5 separate regions of the Homo sapiens genome follow, and all the other regions are linked to region 1. Evidence: promoter capture Hi-C in human tissues and cell types (Jung and others, 2019). All regions are on one chromosome and are shown on one strand. Each heading gives the region's core, a stretch centred on a gene start or on the middle of the fragment in contact. The rest is flanking DNA. Distances are from core to core; before and after follow the strand shown. Region 1 holds the start of POLD2 (DNA polymerase delta 2, accessory subunit). Region 2 has its middle 4.5 kb from the start of NUDCD3. Region 3 overlaps NUDCD3 (NudC domain containing 3). Region 4 holds the start of DDX56 (DEAD-box helicase 56). Region 5 has its middle 9.7 kb from the start of TMED4.

Evidence for each region. The method cuts DNA at HindIII sites, captures the fragments that hold promoters and counts their contacts. A contact is called where the count stands out against the background at its distance.
Region 2: a contact is called between a fragment that was not itself captured here and the fragment with the promoter of POLD2 in region 1, in 2 of the 25 tissues and cell types used here (hippocampus and mesenchymal stem cells).
Region 3: a contact is called between a fragment that was not itself captured here and the fragment with the promoter of POLD2 in region 1, in 1 of the 25 tissues and cell types used here (lymphoblastoid cells).
Region 4: the fragment with the promoter of DDX56 here is called in contact with the fragment with the promoter of POLD2 in region 1 in 3 of the 25 tissues and cell types used here (H1 embryonic stem cells, IMR-90 fibroblasts and heart left ventricle).
Region 5: a contact is called between a fragment that was not itself captured here and the fragment with the promoter of POLD2 in region 1, in 1 of the 25 tissues and cell types used here (stomach).

The regions. Positions count from the first base shown.
Region 1 is chr7:44,122,142-44,124,841 of GRCh38, reverse strand. It overlaps POLD2 (DNA polymerase delta 2, accessory subunit), which reads left to right and starts at 1,294. Exons shown (of 11, transcript NM_006230.4): 1 at 1,294-1,331. RefSeq lists enhancers at 629-688, 208-1,112 and a silencer at 899-1,608. The HindIII fragment of the contact is 6,473 bases long and covers 1-2,700 here.
Region 2 is chr7:44,493,782-44,496,481 of GRCh38, reverse strand. No RefSeq gene overlaps it. Among named protein-coding and RNA genes, the nearest start is that of NUDCD3, 4.5 kb to the right of the region's middle. The HindIII fragment of the contact is 7,594 bases long and covers 1-2,700 here.
Region 3 is chr7:44,457,335-44,460,034 of GRCh38, reverse strand. The region is part of intron 2 of NUDCD3 (NudC domain containing 3); the gene reads left to right. Among named protein-coding and RNA genes, the nearest start is that of NUDCD3, 32 kb to the left of the region's middle. The HindIII fragment of the contact is 5,507 bases long and covers 1-2,700 here.
Region 4 is chr7:44,572,511-44,575,210 of GRCh38, reverse strand. It overlaps DDX56 (DEAD-box helicase 56), which reads left to right and starts at 1,303. Exons shown (of 14, transcript NM_019082.4): 1 at 1,303-1,375; 2 at 1,467-1,628; 3 at 2,161-2,321; 4 at 2,467-2,637. The coding sequence starts at 1,316. RefSeq lists an enhancer at 1,537-1,686. The HindIII fragment of the contact is 7,915 bases long and covers 1-2,700 here.
Region 5 is chr7:44,590,629-44,593,328 of GRCh38, reverse strand. No RefSeq gene overlaps it. Among named protein-coding and RNA genes, the nearest start is that of TMED4, 9.7 kb to the right of the region's middle. The HindIII fragment of the contact is 6,428 bases long and covers 1-2,700 here.

The DNA of each region.
Region 1 (2,700 bases), core at 45-2,544:
ATCACATTTTAAATTAAAATATAAGGCTGGGCGTGGTGGCTCATGCCTGTAATCCCAGCACTTTGGGAGGCTGAGGTGGGAGGATCACTTGAGCCCAGGAGTTCCACACTAGCCTGGGCACCATTGGGAGACCCTGTCTCTACACACACACGCACACACACACACACACACACAAACTTAAAGTAGCCAGGCGTGGTGCTGCGCGCCTGTTGTCCCAGCTACTCGGGAGGCTGAGGCGGGAGAATCACTGGAGCCTGGGAGTTCGAGGCTGCAGTGAGCCGAGATCGCACCACTGCACTCCAGCCTGGGCCACAGAGCAAGACGCTGCCTCAAACAAACAAACAAAAACAAAAATTAAAATATTAAGTAATAATTAACGAGTGTTAATATCCACTCGTTGTGGAGACAAGACCTGGACTTAGGAAACAGGCCCAGGGAAGTAGCAGAACAGTAGCGCTAGAGGACGCCTGGGAGAATCAGCGCGCGGCGGGAAGAGCCCGGGAAGCTTAGTGGGGAAGCGTCTCTTGATGGGGTGAGGAATTCTATAAATTAGTGGAGATGGAAAAAAAAAAAAAAAAGTATTCCCAAAGTGGGAGACAGCACTCAGAAAGACGTGGTGGTAAGAACGAGTATGAGTAACGGGGACAACGAGGACACTGGAGATTGGGGAGTGTTGGGCTGGAAGCTGGTGTGCAGCTGTGGGCAAGCTAGGGAGGACCCCGAAACCGCCAATGCGTTTCCCGGACGCAGACGCTGGCAGGACGGGAGGAACCCCGAGACCCCGCGCCATCCCTTCAGGAAGAGTTACTTCTCCCCGGCCAAGTTAGTGGGCCTTGGGCCTTCTTTCTGTTGGGATCCTCCTCGCGTGTCGCCATCGCTACAAGTGGGCAGCTCTGCGGGGAAAGCTGGGACGCTGGGGGCTTCACCAAGGAGGCTGGCGGCCGACCACTGGGAGGTCTGGCGGGGTGACGACCACTGGGAGGTTTGGGCAGGGCCTGACGGGGTGACGCGGTCAGCCCACTGGAGGCCGACACCCCCCGTCAGCCCAACCCCTGCACGCGCGGCCGCCAACCAAAGACCCGCGGCGCCGGCCTGCGAGCCCCCGCCCCGCGTTGCCCAGGAAACCGAGGGTGTGGCTCCGCGTTCTCTGGGCGTCCCAGGGACTGGGCGCACAGTGGTCGGCGGGATGAGGCGCCTGGTGACGGACGGGGCGAGGAGGGCAGCGATTGGTGAGATTAGGCGATGGGCGGGGAAGCCGCGCGGGGATTAGCGAGTTGCGGCGATGGGCGGGGCAGGCGCGCGGGGATTGGCGGGATGCGGCGCGCCGCGCGGTGAGTGGGGTCCAGGGAAACGGGGTCAGCTGGGGGTGGCAGTTCCAGGCCGCGAGGCCGGGCTCCTGGGTCGGTGGGCTGGTGTCTTGGCGGACGTCCCGCAGCTGCCGCGTGGATCCGAGCCGGGGCACCCGCCGTGACTGGGACAGCCCCCAGGGCGCTCTCGGCCCCATCCCGAGTAGCGCGGCCTGGCTGCTGCCGCCATCAAGCACGTTCGAGCCAAAAGCTCCTAACGAGTCACTCGTTAGACACGTGTGCGGAGCCTGTGTCCCAGGCCAGTGCTGTCCCGTGGAGATAGATTGCAAGCCGCTAGGGAATTTTTTAACTTTCTAGTAGGTGTACGAAAAAAGTAAAACGAAACAAATCAATTGGAGTAAATCCATAAATATATTCAAACTATTATTTCAATTGTATGTGAAAAAATTATTGGGATATTCTTTGTACTATTCTTAGAAATCCATTGTGTGTCCAACCCAAACATCACAGTTGGACTCACCACATCTCCTGTACTTCGTAGCCCTAGGTGGCTAGTGGCATAAGACACAAAAATCTCAGCTCTCCTGGAGCTTATGGTCTAGTTGGAGCAGGCAGACAATACATTTAAAATATACAGTTTGTTAGAAGGTAAATGTTGTAAACAACAATAACAGTTGAAGTACTGGGGAGAGTTGCAGTTGTAAATCAGATGGGCAGGGCACAAGGTAACATTTGAGTAAAGATGTAAGAACTTGAAGGAGATGGGCAAGTGAGCTCTATAAGTATACGGGAGAGGGGCAAGCAAGAGTTCAGAGGCCCCTTGCTGTGGGGAGGGATCCAAGGTGGAGGAGTGGGAACCAGGAGGGGAGAGGACCAGTGGAGCAGATCTCATAGGCAGTTGTAAGGACTTGGGGCCTTATTCAATGAAATGAGGACACTTTGGAGAGTTTTGAACAGAGCAGTGACTGATTTATGTTTTGGTTTTGGTTTAGTTCTATTATTATTTAATAATAGGCTTATTATTTCACAGAAGTTTTATTTAATAAGGCAGACCTCTTGTCTGGAAATGAGACAGGTGCCGGAGAGCTGGATGGAGGCAGATCGGGAATTCCATTTGGGGCAAACTGAACTTGATTGAGACCCTGGTAGTTGTCCAGATGGAACAGGACACCTGAGTCTAGGGTTCGGGAAGAACTCCAGATGGGACAAACACTCCTAGCTTTCCTTTTCTCTTTTTGGATGACCGCTACAGGGTGAGACATCGGTATCCAGGCACGATAAATTTCCAAGTGGACACAATGTCTGGTGTCAACTACAGCTGTTCTCCTTCTTTTCCCAGTATCCTTTGGGTGCAGTGAGACACCAGGAGAGCTGCTGCTTTGGGGGATGGACA
Region 2 (2,700 bases), core at 107-2,606, 370 kb before region 1:
AGGAAGACCACAGAGGTAAGGTGTCATTCATAGCATATTAAAGGTGTATACTATCAAACATGACTTATCATTGTTGATGTTGACCTCGATCACCTGGCTGAGGTCATCCTCGTCAGGTTTCTCCCCTTTCCACGCTCTACCATTAGGAAGAGTCACTACATGTATCCTAGACATAAGAAGTAGGGAGTCATGCTCCACCTCCTTGAGGGCAGACTAGCTACATAAATAACTGGGAATTCTTCTGAACAGAAAATGTGTCTATTTTCTTCCATTTCTTTATTCAGTATGAGAAATATCTCTATATATCATATAGGTATGTATATATCAATATATTTATATGTATATCGGTATGGACTCACAGGTATTTGTTTTATATTTTGGGTTCTAATATAATAATACCTTATTTTGCTGCTCAAATTGTTCCAGCTTTGGCCATTGGAAGCGCTTTCCTTTGTCATACCCCCATCATTGTGTGGTTTTTTTTTTCTTTGCACTTCCTTTACTTTGAGACACCACCCACAAGATGCTCCAGGCGCATCTTGTATATTTTCTGTGCCAGTCCTAGAATCAGCCATTTCTCCAAGAAGCCCTGGTTCCTTCTATTGGAGAATATCAGAAACCAAGATCTGGGTGGAAGGTATGCTCGTTGTTACTGAAGCATTGTTGCTTCTAGACCTTCTCAGCTGAGAGCAAGTAAATACATGTATGTACACTCACCTGCATATATACACATTTCTGTAAACAGTTCTACACATAGCCATCTGTATCTATAAGGATGAATTTCTAACTCTGATCTATTACCACATGGATCATTCTAGCCTCCTTCCCCGCTTATTTATAACTCTCTCACTCCACCAGTGAGAAACCTGGATCCCACCACCCTCCACCATTTACTTAATTGCTCATTTCCACTATACATATCTAGCGGTTTCAGAATTGATAACCCATACCCCTGTTAGGAATAATTGTATCAACTAGATTTCAGTGTTTATATACAGTTCCTTTTGTCTTTAGTCTTACAGACTCTGCTCATTTCCAAAGTTACTTAGGACAGCATCTCTTTCTATCATCCCTTCAGTGAGGTTGTTTCATACATCTGTGACACAGTTAGATTGTTTTGTCACATTCTGCAACCCATTCTGGGATCCCCCAATCTCCTAAGTGATTTTTTAAAAGACTGCCTATATTAAGGTTTACTCTTGGTGCTATAAATTTCTATGGGTTTTGACAAATGTGTAGTGTCACGTATCTATCATTATTACTACTAATTATTATTATTAATAATTATTACTATTAATTACTAATTATTACTATTAATTACTAATTACTAATTATTGCTATTATTACTAATAATTACTATTAATAATTATTACTATTAATAATTATTACTATCATTATTCTATGATAGTAATTACTATCATATAGAATAATTTTACATCCTAAAAAATTCCCTGTGCATCATTCAACCTTTTTTTCACACGCAGACCCTGACAACCACTGATCTTTTACTGTTTCTACATTTTGCATTTTTCAGAATGTCATATAATTGGGTGGTAGCATTTTTTGAGTGGTTTCTATCTCTTAGCAATACGCATTTAAGATTAAGCCATATCTTTTTATTGATTGACAGCTTATTCCTTCTTACTGCTGAAAACAGTACTTCATTCTATGAATGTACTACCTTTCGTTTATCCAGTACCTGTTGACGGCACCTGGTTGCTTCCCATTTTTGGCAATTTTGAGTAAAGCTGCAATAAACATTTGCATGTAGATTTCTGTATGGACATAGTTTTCAAATAAGCTGGGTAAATACATAAGAGCATGATTGCTGGACTGTGTTATGACATTATGTTTAGCTTTCCATTCAATTTAAAAGATATTTTGGCCGGGCACGGTGGCTCACGCCTGTAATCCCAGCACTTTGGGAGGCTGAGGCGGGTGGATCACAAGGTCAGGAGATCGAGACCATCCTGTGAATGGTGAAACCCCGTCTCTACTAAAAATTCAAAAAATTAGCCGGGTGTGGTGGCGGGCACCTGTAGTCCCAGCTACTCGGGAGGCTGAGGCGGGAGAATGGCGTGAACCCAGGAGGCGGAGCTTGCAGTGAGCCGAGCTGAGACTGTGCCACTACACCCCAGCCTGGGCGACAGAGCGAGACTCTGTTTCAAAAAAAAAAAAAAGATATTTTATTTACTTTTTGAATAGGTAATGCATGTATATGGTATCAAATACAAAAGTAAGTTTTTCTCCTGTTTTATAGTGTTTCCCTCAATTTCCCTTCTCCAGATGCAGCGTCTGTTCCATTTCTTCCTTTAGGTGCTAAAGAAAATTATTCAAAACTTTGAATATAGCAAGAAGATGACTGCATGTGCTTCCAGTTATACTGAGGAATTATATAACAGGCTCACCCGAGATTCATTAATTCTCTAGGGCAGTGATTCTCAGAGTGTAGTATGTGGCCCTGGGGGGCCTCCAAGGTAAAAATAACAATACTATGATGTTATTTGCTTTTTTACCATGTTGACATTTGCAATGATGGTGCAAAAGCAATGGCAGGTAAAACTGCAAGTGTCTCAGCAGGAATCAAGGCAGGCCATTGTCCTAGCTTCCTGCTGTCACAAAGTACCATAGACTGGGTGGCTTAAACAACACATGTTTATTCTCTCACAGTCTTGGAGGCCAGAAATCCAAGACCAAGGT
Region 3 (2,700 bases), core at 143-2,642, 340 kb before region 1:
CATTGTCTACTAAAGGGCTCAAGACTGTTCTTTAATATTGTTTGATTTCTTTAAAATGAATTCCACTGTGACTTGATCAAGTTTTGTATTATACCACTTGGGGACTTTAATTGATATTATGTTAAAACTCCATATTAACTTGAAGAGTATGATCAGTTTTGTTCTCGTTAAATTTTCCTGTTAAAAGGAAGCATATCATTCTATTGTTGGTGGCTTCCTTTTTTCTGTCATTAAATTCAGTTACAGAAAGTTGCCCTCAAGAATTATATACAAATCTCATGTGTCCTCAGATCCATTAGTAGCCATACAGTTAATGTTTGTGTTGCTTTTAGCAATGGTATCTTCTTCTCCACCATATGTTATAGATGTGTGACAGTTAGGAAAGCAGTTGTTTAATTAATTACAAAAGTAATTTGGAAAATTTGGAAAATAGAATTATCCAGTTCTATCACTATTATTACCTTGTTCAATTTTCTTCTGATTAAAACAATTATATTTGCTAGTTCTTTATTAGACAATTATAATATTAGAAAATACATGACCACAGGTCTAGGCATGGTGGCTTATTCCTGTAATCCCAACACTTCAAGAGGCCGAGGCAGAAGGATTGCATGAGCCCAGGAGTTCCAGACCAGCCTGGGCAACATAGTGAGATCCCGTCTTGAAAAATTAGCCAGGCATGGTGGTGCATGCCTATAGTCCCAGCTATTCAGGGGGCCGAGATGGGAGAATTGCTTGAGCCCTGTAGGTCAAGGCTACAGTGGGCCATGATCGTGCCACTGCACTCAGCCTGGGCAACCAAGTGAGGCCCTGTCTCAAAAAAAAAAAAAAGAAAAAATTAAGAAAAATCCATCTACAATAGAATATATATAAAAAAATACTTAGGAATAAATTTTTAAAACTCCAAAACTAATAATACTCCCAAAACAACACAACATTGTTGAAAGGAATTTCTTCTTTATAATCCTGCAGCCATTGTCAATATACTGTGAGATGTCCTTGCACACCTTTCTCCAGGCTCATACACATGCTTGTATGTATGCATACACATCACCACACACACACACACACACACACACACACACACACACACACACAGCACTCCCCGTCTAATCCTGCAGCCAGTGTCAGTATACTGAGATGTGTCCTTGCACACCTTTCTCCAGGCTCATACACATGCTTGTATGCATGCACACACATCACACCAAGTGCACATGGCACACCATACCAGACACATGTACGGTTTTAAAAACTTGAGATATAGTTCACGTATCTTAAAATTTGTACTTTAACATGTACAATTCAGTGCTTTTCACATATTTACAAGGTTGTATAACTACCACTATTATCTAATTCCAGAACTTTTTTTTTCCCCCGAGACAGAGTTTCGCTCTTGTTGCGCAGGCTGGAGTGCAATTTCACAATCTCAGCTCACTGCAACCTCCGCCTCCCAGGTTCAAGTGATTCTCCTGCCTCAGCCTCCCAAGTAGCTGGAATTACAGGCATGCTCACCATGCCTGGCTAATTTTTTGTATTTAATAGAGACGGGGTTTCACCATGTTGGTCAGGCTAGTCACAAACTTCTGACCTCAGGTGATCCACCTGCCTCAGCCTCCCAAAGTGCTGAGTTTACAGGTGTGAGCCACCATGTCTGGCCCCAGAACATTTTTATTACCTGAAAAAGAACTTTGTATGCATTAGCATTCACTCCTCATTTTCTCTCAAACCTCCCAGCCCTAGGCAATTACCAGTCTACTTTGCCTTTGTAGATTTGCCAATTCTGACATTTCATATAAATGGAATAATACATTATGTGGCCTTTGTGTCTGGCTTTTCTCACTTAATGGAGTGTTTTCAGGATTCATCCATGTTGTAGCATTTATCAGTACTTCATTCCTTTTACTGACAGAATAATATTTTATTGTATGGACATACTTCATTTTGTTTATTCATCGGTTGGTGGACAGTTGGATTGCTATTATGAGGAATAGTGCTATGAACATTTGTATACAAGCTTTTGTGTAGACATATATGTTCATTTGTCTTAGGTATATACCTAGGAGTATAAATGCTGGGTCCTGTTAAACTGTATGTTTAACCTTTTGAGGAAGTGCCAGGCTGTTTTCCAAAGCAGTTCCACCATTGTACACCAGCAATCTATGGGGATTCCAATTCCTTCACATCCTTGCCAAAACTTATCTATTTTTTTTGATTGTGGCTATTCTAGTGGGCATGAAGTGGGATCTCATTGTAGTTTCCATGTGCATTTTCTAGTAACTAAAAATGTGTATTTTTTCATGTGCGTTATTGGCTATTTGTATATCTTTGGAGAAATAACTATTCAAACTCTTTAACCATCTTTATGTAGTCTACATACAAGTCCTGTATTACATATATAATTTACAAATATGTTTTCCCATTAGTTTCGTAGTTTAAAACATGTATTCCTAAGTATTTTATTCTTTTTTGAGTCTATTGTAGATGGAATATTTCTTAATTTCATTTTCAGATTGTTCATTGCTAGTTTATAGGAATACAATAGATTTTTGTATAGTGATCTTGTAACCTGCAGCTTTGCTAAATTTGTTTATTAATGCATAGTTTTTAGTGGATTCCTTAGGATTTTCTATATACAAGATCTTTTCATTTGCAAACAGATAATTTTACTTTTTTCTTCTCATCTGGATACTATTTATTTTC
Region 4 (2,700 bases), core at 54-2,553, 450 kb before region 1:
TGGGTGGTATGGTAGGTAGAATAATGGCCTACCACTCTGAAACATATGAATATGTTACCTAACATGACAGAAGAGAATTAAGTTGCTAATCAGATGACTGTAAAATAAATTATCCTGGATCATCTGGATGGGCCTAATGTAATCACAAAGGTTGTTTCCTTGCCTTTTCCAGCTTGGCTCTGGCTCCCTTCCTCCAGCAAGGGTGGGTTGAGCTCTCACATGGCACCACTTTGACCTCTTCTGCTTCCCTCTTCTACACTGAAAGACTTATGGGCCAGGAGCAGTGGCTCGCACCTGCAATCCCAGCACTTTGGGAGGCCGAGGAAGGCAGATCGCTTGGCCCCAGGAGTTCAAAACCGTCCTGGGCAACGTGGCGAAACCCCATCTAGAAAGAAAAGAAGAGAAGGGGAGGGGGGAGGGGAGGAGGAGTTACATATATACACATACACACACACACACACGTACGTACATACATACATACACGCTAACTGGACGTGGTGGTGCGTGCCTGTAGTCTTAGCTTTCCAGGAGACTGAGGTGGGAGGACCACTTGAGCCTGAGATCGCGCCAGCCTGGGTGACAGTCAGACCATGTCTCAAAAAAAAAAAAAGATTTGTGATTAGGATTCTTAGTCCTCACCTGTATTATTTTCCTATTGCTACTGTAACAAATTACCACAAATTTACTGGCTTAAAACGACGCAAGTCTGTAGGTCAGAAGTCTGACACGGGTCTTAACTGGTGACCCGAGTCAGATTTGGGACACAAAGAACAGAAACCAAGCTGTGCAGGTTTCTGACAGGCAGTCCGGTTAGGGAGCCCTACAGCAACCCGCCGGTCCTCTCTCTCAGGCAGTTGCTGCCATGGCTCATTATTCCAACCGGTTCTCCTCAGCCCAGTCTATCTCAGTGGCTCCATTCATAGGGTGATGTGCCCGGCGGGACACTAACCCTAACCAAGCAGAGAGACGGTCATGCCCGTCACGACCTCGGCCCTCGCCCCGGCCGAGGCTTCTCCTGCAGGTCGCGAGAATCAGGTGCGTCAGCGGCGTCCGGGAACGCCGGAAGAGCCAGTGGAGCGGCTCTGTAGTCCAAAGTACCCCGTCGACCCCAGCACGGCCGCTCCACCGCCTCCTACTAGACCCAGTCCTAGGGACTGCGCAGTCGCAGAGCTCCGTCCGAGTACCGGAAGCCTAGGCCGCCAGCACTTCCGGGAAGTGACTTCGTCTCCGAAGCCGATTGGTTGTTGCTTTGCTCCCGCTCGCGTCGGTGGCGTTTTTCCTGCAGCGCGTGCGTGCTGCGCTACTGAGCAGCGCCATGGAGGACTCTGAAGCACTGGGCTTCGAACACATGGGCCTCGATCCCCGGCTCCTTCAGGTACACGCGAGGGCTGGGGAGCCGGCTTACGGGCTCTGCGGGGCGCGCCATCGCTCTTCACGCCGCTTAAACCGCACTCCTGGTCTCCTAGGCTGTCACCGATCTGGGCTGGTCGCGACCTACGCTGATCCAGGAGAAGGCCATCCCACTGGCCCTAGAAGGGAAGGACCTCCTGGCTCGGGCCCGCACGGGCTCCGGGAAGACGGCCGCTTATGCTATTCCGATGCTGCAGCTGTTGCTCCATAGGAAGGCGGTGGGTAACGAGAGAGCTGAGGGGAGGAAGGAGGCAAGCTCCAAAAGCCTGGGAAGGGCGGTTCCCGTTTGTCTGAGGTTTTCTCTTGGCCCTGTACCCGTGCAGGCCGGCCTGAGAACCTGGTGCTGTTGTGGCAAACACTCTGGGCTGGAGTTCAGGTTACCTGGATCCTTGTCCGGCCCTGCTACCACCAACCTTTGCGTAATCTTCGACAAAGCACTTTCTTTTCTTTCTTACATAAAAAGGGAGCACATCTATCTTTTCTACTTACAGAATTATTGTGAGAATTTAGCTTCATAACTAGTATATTTAAAGTAGCTTCATAAACATCAGAGTACGTTATTCTTTTTGAGGGTCAGTGCCTGGGGAAAGAACTCTCCACTCTGCATTCTGAGGCGGGCAGAGTGATAGATGATCAAAGTACTGCTAAGTAGTGTTGCAGCAGATGGGTCAGGTAGGCTGGAAGGGGTAGAGACACGTGGACACAGTGATGTGCACTGCTGGCTAAAGTCTTTAATTCATATTCTTACAGACAGGTCCGGTGGTAGAACAGGCAGTGAGAGGCCTTGTTCTTGTTCCTACCAAGGAGCTGGCACGGCAAGCACAGTCCATGATTCAGCAGCTGGCTACCTACTGTGCTCGGGATGTCCGAGTGGCCAATGTCTCAGCTGCTGAAGACTCAGTCTCTCAGAGGTGGGTAAAAGCAGCAAAGCTGTACCTGAATGAAGCTACACAGTGTTGTGGGGTTGGGTTTGTGTGTGGCAAAAAAGAGAGCAAATCCAGGGTGAGATCCCAGCTGCTACATTCTGCCTGATACTGATGTCTTGTCCACCTCCAGAGCTGTGCTGATGGAGAAGCCAGATGTGGTAGTAGGGACCCCATCTCGCATATTAAGCCACTTGCAGCAAGACAGCCTGAAACTTCGTGACTCCCTGGAGCTTTTGGTGGTGGACGAAGCTGACCTTCTTTTTTCCTTTGGCTTTGAAGAAGAGCTCAAGAGTCTCCTCTGGTAAGGCAGAGGTGGGTGTGATTCCTAGTGGAAACATCTGTGAGTAGGAGTTGGGACGAGAGC
Region 5 (2,700 bases), core at 198-2,697, 470 kb before region 1:
AAGTTTCACTCAGAGTGGCAATAGCACTTCTTTCCTTCTTTCTTTCTCTCTTTCTTTCTTTTCTCTCTCTTTCTTTTTTTTTTGTTTTTTGTTTTTTGACGGAGTTTCGCTCTTGTCGCCCAGGCTGGAGTGCAGTGGCATGATCTCTGCTCACTGCAACCTGCACCTCCTGGGTTCAAGCAATTCTCCTGCCTCAGTCTCCTGAGTAGCTTGGATTACAGGCTCCTGCCACCACACCTGGCTAATTTTTTGAATTTTTAGTAGAGATGAGGTTTCGCCATGTTGGGCAGGCTGGTCTTGAACTCCTCACCTCAGGTGATCTGCCCACCTGGGCCTCCCAAAGTGCTGGGATTACAGGTGTGAGATACCGCGCCCAGCCTCTTTCTTAATTTTTGAGACAGGGTCTCATTCTGTCACCCAGTCTGGAGTACAGCGGTGTGATCTCGGCTAACTGCAGCCTCTGCCTCCCAGGCTCAAACCATCCTCCCATTTCAGCCTCCTGAGTAGCTGGGACCACAGGCATGTGCTACCATACACAGGTAAGTTTTGTATTTTTGGTAGAGACAGGGTTTCACCATGTTGCCCAGGCTGGTCTCAAACTCTTGAGCTCAGGTGATCCACCTTCCTCGGCCTCCCAAAGTGCTGGGATCACAGGCATGAGGCACTGCGCCTGGTCTCTAGCATTTAATTTTTAATTTTTATTTTATTAAATAAATAACACATTATTTTCTGTTTTTTACTCTCAAACTCCTTTTGACTTTGATTTTTAATTTTTTATTTATTTATTTTTTTAGAGACAGGGTCTCACTTTGTCATCCAGGTTGGAGTGCAGTGGCATGATCATAGCTCATTACAGCCTCAAACTCCTGGCTTCAAGCATTCTCCTGCCTCAGCCTCCCAAAGTGCTGGGGTTATAGGCATAGGTCACTATACCTCGCCTCAAATTCCTTTTTACCAAGTGACATATTCATATGGCTCAGAAATAAAAAGTATATTTAAAAGTTTTGTTTGTAAAGTCTCCTACCCCATGACCATCCACCTCATTCTTTGTTGGCTTGCCAGACCCCTTCCCTGCTGGGGTTAACTCTTGTTGGATCATGGGGCAGTCATTTATCCTGGGGTGAGAGCAGAGGTGGAGGGAATTCAGGGGTTTGGTAGTGGCCATTTACCGACCAGGACAAGAATATTTCTATATTTTAACCAGTATAACCCTACTGGTGTATATGAGCTAAATCTTAGGTTACCTATAACCACTTACATTAGTTTCTTAAATATTCTTCCAGTGTTTTTTCATGAAGGTACAAATACCAAAGAGAGTTTACTATGTATTCTCTTCCGCATCTGCTTTTCAAATTGATGGCCAGGTGCAGTGGCTCACACTTGTAATCCCAGCACTTTGGGAGGCCAAGGTGGGTGATCACCTGAGGTTGGGAGTTCGAGACCAGCCTGGCCAACATGGTAAAACCCCATGTCTACTAAAAATACAAAAATTAGCCAGGTGTGATGGTGCACACCTGTAATCCCAGCTACTTGGGAGGTTGAGGCATGAGAATCAGTTGAACCCAGGAGGCAGAAGTTGCAGTGAGCTGAGATGGCGCCACTGTACTCGGGCCTGGGCTGCAGAGTGAGACTCTGTCTCAAAAAAAAAAAAAAAAAAAAAAAAAGGCTGGGCGCGGTGGCTCACACCTGTAATCCCAGCACTTTGGGAGGCCGAGGCGGGCGGATCACAAGGTCAGGAGTCGAGACCATCCTGGCTAACACGGTGAAACCCCGTCTCTACTAAAAATACAAAAAACTAGCCGGTCGCGGTGGCAGGTGCCTGTAGTCCCAGCTACTCGGGAGTTTGAGGCAGGAGAATGGTGCAAACCTGGGAGGCGGAGCTTGCAGTGAGCCGAGATTGCGCCACTGCACTCCAGCCTGGGTGACAGAGCAAGACTCCGTCTCAAAAAAAAAAAAAAAAAAAAGAAAGGAAAACAAATTGAACAGTATATCCTGGAAATCTTTCTATTCGTATAAAGCTTTTCAGTTCATAGAGAGCTTCCTGACTTTTTCCAGTTGCATAACTGCATTGTGTGGTTTCAGTAGGGATAGCTCATCAGCGTTCCATTTGGTATTGGCTGGGGCAGCTCCACTGGGACTGCAGGATCCAAGATGGCTTCATTCCAATGACTGGTCCAATTGGGTGGGCTGGACCTCCTGTCAGCTGGGTTCCAAGGGAATGAAAATGGAAGCTGCAAGGTCTCTTATGGCCTAAGCCCCAGAAGTCATATAGCTTCTCTTCCACTGCATTGAATTGGTCAGAACAAACCACAGGGCCAGTTCAAATTCAAGTTGAGGGAAAATAGACTCCACCCCTCAATGGGAGGAACAGTATGTGTTTATAGGGATTGGAGGAATTGTCAGCAGTGGTCTTTGCAGACAGTAACACACCAAAGCCCAATCAAGGTTCACGTCTTTTTTGGTATTATGCATCTTTTTATTTATTTTTTTGAGATAGGGTCTCACTCTGTCACCCTGGCTGGGTGCAATGGCGCGATTTGGGTTCACTGCAACCTCCACCTCTTGGACTCAAGCAATCCTCCCACCTCAGCTTCTTGAGTAGCTGGGACTATAGTCACACAACACCACTCCTGGCTTAACTTTTGTATTTTTTGTAGAGGTGGGATTTAGCCATGTTGCCCAGGTTGGTCTTGAACTTCT